Regions from separate parts of the Homo sapiens genome. Here region 2 is linked to region 1. Evidence: promoter capture Hi-C in 16 types of primary human blood cells and fetal thymus (Javierre and others, 2016). All regions are on one chromosome and are shown on one strand. The core of a region is centred on a gene start or on the middle of the fragment in contact, and the rest is flanking DNA. Distances in the headings are between cores, read along the strand shown.

What was found. Contacts are between HindIII fragments. The CHiCAGO score rates a contact against its expected background, and 5 or more counts as called.
Region 2: a contact is called between the fragment with the promoter of ARMCX5 here and the fragment with the promoter of BEX5 in region 1, in 1 of 17 cell types (total CD4 T cells). The highest score is 5.9, in total CD4 T cells.

What each region holds. Positions count from the first base shown.
Region 1 is chrX:102,154,612-102,157,311 of GRCh38, reverse strand. BEX5 (brain expressed X-linked 5) reads left to right here and starts at 1,335. Exons shown (of 3, transcript NM_001012978.3): 1 at 1,335-1,453; 2 at 2,502-2,568. RefSeq lists an enhancer at 1,379-1,518. The HindIII fragment of the contact is 12,891 bases long and covers 1-2,700 here.
Region 2 is chrX:102,598,145-102,600,844 of GRCh38, reverse strand. It overlaps ARMCX5 (armadillo repeat containing X-linked 5), which reads right to left and starts at 1,330. Exons shown (of 4, transcript NM_001168478.2): 1 at 998-1,330. ARMCX5-GPRASP2 (ARMCX5-GPRASP2 readthrough) reads right to left here and starts at 1,330. Exons shown (of 19, transcript NR_146584.3): 1 at 998-1,330. RefSeq lists enhancers at 1,031-1,080, 513-1,284. The HindIII fragment of the contact is 9,703 bases long and covers 1-2,700 here.

The DNA of each region.
Region 1 (2,700 bases), core at 86-2,585:
TCCACCCTCCTGTAGGCCCCAGTGTTGTTCCCCTCTATGTGTCCATCACAATACATTTTCATCTGTCAGGGTAGCTTCCCCAAATTATTGTCCTGAATCATCAGGGCTAGGTGTTATTGTAAATTGTGGTTACACTAATACAATTTAGAGGAGATCATCAGTTTGTCACAGGTTCTCAAGACATGAAAATCCACCAGAGAGGCTCTATTAGACTCAATGCATCATTTCACGGAAGGACATGTAGAGATCCTTCACGAGAAAATCACTTCTTTCCTTCTTTCCTTCCTCTTTTCTTTTCTTTTCTTCTTCCTTTCTTTCTCTTTCTTTCTTTCTTTCCTTCTTTCTTTCTTTCCTTCTTTCTTTCTTGACAGAGTCTCACTCTATCGCCCAGGCTTGGTGTGCAATGGTGCTACCTCGGCTCACTACAACCTCTGCCGCCCAGGTTCAAGCAATTCTCCTGCCTCAGCCTCCCGAGTAGCTGGGATTACAGGCGCCTGCCACCACGCCCAGCTACTTTTTGTATTTTTAGTAGAGACGGGGTTTCACCATCTTGGCCAGGCTGGTCTTGAACTACTGACCCCGTGATCCACCCACCTCGGCCTCCCAAAGTGCTAGGATCACAGGCACGAGCCACCGCTCCCGGCCTTATTTCAAAGTCCTTAAAGGAGGCAGGGGAATGCTTTCTGGAAGGTTTATATTTATAATATGATTCAGCAGGAGAAACAGATTGCCATGTTTTTACAACTCGAATCCTGTTTTTTCAACTGAAAATAATTGTATTGTCTAGTTATAAAAACAACAACAAAATGAATGCATGCTGATGAAAAATAAAAGGAACCCCCTTCCCAAATAAACAAACAAAAAGGAAAGTAGTTGAAGTGAAAAAAAAATTTGAATACCACTTCCTGCCTATTTTCCAGACTTCCTAGCCTCTCGCTCCCCACCCCTTCTCCGGGTTCCAATCTGGGACCAAGCCCTACAAGACTGTTAGGGCTTTACTTGCTGGACGTGAAGGGGAGAGAAGTGTGCGTTTAGGTGTATAGAAGAGGAAGAAGCGATTTTTTAAAAGCTCCAGCAGAAACCAGAGCAAGCCAAATACAAAATATTATGACCCGTTTGGTCGTGGGGATCGCTAAATAAAAAAATAGAGGGGTGGATAGTAGCCTGTGGTAGTGGTGGAGAAAGCACGAATGAAGAGAAAGGTGGCCCCGCCCACAGTCCCGCCCCCACCCTCCTGCCGCACTGCGGGTGTGAATGGTAATTGGAAATCTGAGCTCACAGTGACGTGACCCTTAGGAGACCCAGAGCCAATGCGTGGATTAGTCCCTCCTCCTAGTTGCAGTCTGGTAGTTGTCGCTGGCCGTGTGACGGCTCGCTGTTGCCCTGAAGGCAGGCGAGCCAGCTGCCCAGGAAAGGTGGAAAGTGGTAGAAGCTGACCCCTGAGCCCTGGCAGGTAGGTGGCGCTGACCGGTGTGTGAGCAGCAGAGGGCAAAGACCAGAGCGGGTCTAGGACTGGATACACACCCTTTCCAGATACACACCCGTTTAGTGCGAGAAATGGAGCGGTTGGGGAGAGGATCTCCCGAGGGGGCTGGATTGAGAATGGGTACCATTTGAGATCTCCTAGGAGGCCGGCCATCGGGCAATGTCTGATGGAGTCCAGCCGGTGGAGGAGACTGAAAGGAAACAGCCTGCTTCCTGCAGGTCCGCGGGAGGGAGGTACAGCCGGCAACCAAGGGTTGGGGAGGGCGGACCCTGCCAAGGTTTTAGGCCTGCCTTCTAGGTATCTTTTCTTCACCCTCTACCCATTTAGAGCTGGAAATGATAGGCTGCGGGGGCCGAGGAGAGGAATTGCTGCAGAGGAGGGGGACAGAGATTAGGTCTGGAAAGCAGGTCCCTATTGCGGCAGTTGAGCGGGCGAGCTTCTGACTGAGGGACAGAGGCGAGGAGCGAGAAACTGTTTTTGGTCTCAGCAGGTCGGTCGGTGTAAGCGTGGGCGCTACCTGTAGATCCTGGAGTGAGAATGACAAAGCGCAGAGACCGCAGCAGGTCCTAGTTTTCAATGCCCACATACCTCTTCACTCATCGTCCATCTTGATGCATAAAATGGTGGGCATGGGAGTGGGGATCGGGTGGAGAGAGGGCCTGATGGATATCTAGATTGAAATTCTTTGTGAATAAACTACGTATTCATTCAGCAAGCTCTTCTAACTCCCCCGCCAGGCAAGTTGCCTGCGTTGCAGAAAGGGTAACTAGATGACAGGTAAGAGGAAACAGTAGAGATGGGCGCCTAAAGAAGAGGTTAAAACGTTTTGGAAATAATCATCTTTGATGCCTATTTCTGGAAGGTGGGATAGCCTGTCACAGGGTGGGAAAAGAAGCCGTGAGACAGGATGGAGGAGAAACAGAAGGTGCTAATACTAGGAGAACCCTAAATCAACTCCCATTACCGGTCCTTTGATTAAAAGATCAGTCCTGGTAATTGTCACATTTGTCTGCAGGTCTTTAAGTGCGTTTGTGCAGCCGATTTCAAGGCTAAGAGAGAAAGACTGCCTCTGATCCCTGAAGGTAGGAGGTTGCCTGGGGCCCTCTGGTGTAGGGGTATCAAGGATCAGAGCAGAATCTGGGTGACTCACAGCCCTTCCTGCCCGAGTTGAGTGCAGGAGAAACTTAGGAGAGTCTTCATAAAATGACAGCCTG
Region 2 (2,700 bases), core at 81-2,580, 440 kb before region 1:
AGCACCTAGGGCACAGTTTCTTTCTGGATATAAGTACCTGTTTGGCAAACATTTTCTATCTCCCCTTTTTCTCCCACTCCTAAATCTCCAAGCCCCTCTGCTCTATTCTCAAAGTCTGACAATTCCTATACAGAGACAACTCAAACATCCCTACAAGGTAGTAGTAGTGGTGTTAGTAGGGACGAAATGCCTAGACAAACCACGGAGGCTGGGGAAAAAATGAAAAGTATTTATTTCCATATTTCATCTGGGTTCCTATGTTTCCTTCCTCTCTCCCAAAGCCTATCATTTTCTGCAACATAATGCGGGTAAGGGAGGACATGTTAGGAAAGCTGGCAGAGAGTTCTGGAGGCTCCCTTACACTCCTGCCTACTCTAATCTTAGCCATCTACCACCTCCAAGTACTGCCTCCCAAGTACTGCCCACTCTGTACAAACCAGGCCAATTTTCTTTTCCTTCTCCTCTCCCCTTGAGGTCTGCTGTCCCCTACAGATCTTTACAGAAACATGGAGTGCTGCAAACTTAGGAACAGATTTACACATAAAAACGCGTGATACACACCCAAAGAACAAATGAAAAGACAGAGAGAGAGACGTGGTTATTAATGGTCAGACCAGTAACCAAGACATGAGACCCTTTTCAAATCCAGAGCCTTGATTATCAAACATTTACAACCTCTTTTTACATTCTCTCCCTCTCAGGGCTCCCCAGACAACTGTCCTCGCCTGTGGAAGTAGCCCTCTCTTCCTCATCTAGTCTGCCTTTTCCCTGCTAGAAGCTGCAACCTTTTTCTTCCCAAGCATGGTCTGAGGTGAACCGAGTGTATGGAAATCAAGCTAGCAAAAGGTAGATCATTTTTTTTTAATTGTTGTGTGCCATTCCAATTACCCATCTCTCTCTCCTTCTCACCGCCCGCCTCCCATGACCAGGTCGCGTATCCAGTGTTCACCTCTGATACCCACATCCACCCCCAAGCGATGCGCACCTTCTCACTGACCTTCTCTGCTTGGATCAGAGGCAGTTTTCTTATTTCCTTGCCTCGAGGTGCTGTGTCATACAGCAGCAGGAACAGACAGTCAGACACAAGGACTCGAGGCAATGGCGGCGGCTGTGTATGGGGATTGACTCGGCACCTGGGACTCAAGACGAGATAACCGCTTTATCAGATTAAAGACTGCGATTGGCAAACTGTTGTCACTTTTGGTATTCTTTTCTCCTTCCTGTTCCCAGGGCTCCTCAGAACCTCGCGCGTAGTTACCATTTAACATCTACCTTTTCCTCCGCAGACGAGGTTCTTCCACGTCCGCGTTACCCACAACGGCAGTGGGAGGAGCTAGAGCGTAGTTTATGGGGATCCGGCTTATGGAAGCGGAGTGATATCAGGCTTTGTTTAGCGCCGCGACTCTTTTCTGTCGGAGGGCTCCCTGTCCTGTACCCTGTGGCCGCTTCAGGTATTGGAATGCGCAGGGACGAATTCCGGATATAGGGAAAACGGCGCTGGAACAAGAGAGGCAGACAAATACCAGAGTGTTTCTGTATTAGTTCCCCTTTTGCGGGAGCTCCCCCCACCAAGCCTACCATTCTTTCCTGAACTGAAATGCACATGGGTTTCCAGCTGTGGTGTCAGGAAATCTCTTCTGGCCTGACAGGCGGAAGTGTTCCAGTCTTTCGAAGTTCGTTCTCCAAACACAGAGGCCCACTGAAATGGGCGGTCTCGGGGTGGGGCCCAGGGTAGGAAAGTCAGCAAAGAGAGTCAAGACTGAGATAGGAGGATACATACTAATCGATTCCACAAACTTTGTGTTCCTTCGAGTCCTCCCTCCCAGCCCTTAATTTTCATTTTCTTTTTTTTTTTTTTAAGTTCTAGGATACATGTGCAGGATGTGCGTGTTTGTTAAATAGGCAAACGTGTGCCGTGGTGGCTTGCTGCACCAATCAACCTATGACCTAGGTATTAAGCCTGGCATGCATTAGCTATTTTTCCTAAGGCTTTCCCTCACCGCCCCCCACAACCCCTGACAGGTCCCAGTGCGTGTTTTTCCCCTCCCTGTGTACATGTGTTCTCATTGTTCAGCTTCCACTTATAAGGGAGAACATGCAGTATTTGTTTTCTGTTGCTGCATTAGTTTGCTGAGGATAATGGCTTCCAGCTCGATCCATGTCCCTACAAAGGACATGATCTCATTCTTTATTATGGCTGCATGGTATTTCATGGTGTATATGCACCACATTTTCTTAATGTTATCACTGATGGGCATTTGGGTTGATGCCACGTCTTTGCTATTGTGAATAGTGCGGCAATGAATATACGTGTGCGTGTATCTTTGTAATAGAATGATTTATATTCCTTTGGGTATATACCCAGTAATGGGATTGCTGGGTCAAATGGTATTTCTGGTTCTAGATATTTGAGGAATTGCCACACCGTCTTCCACAATGGTTGAACTAATTTACATTCCCACCAATGTAAAAGCGTTCCCATTTCTCTGCAACTTTGCCAGCATCTCTTGTTTCTTAACTTTGTATTAATTGCCGTTATGACTGGTGTGAGATGGTATCTCATTGTGATTTTGATTTGCATTTCTCTAATGATCAGTGATGTTGAGCTTTTTTCCATGTGTTTGTTGGCCACATAAATGTCTTCTTTTGAGAAGTGTCTGTTCATGTCCTTTGCCCACTTTTTAATGGGGTTGTTTGTTT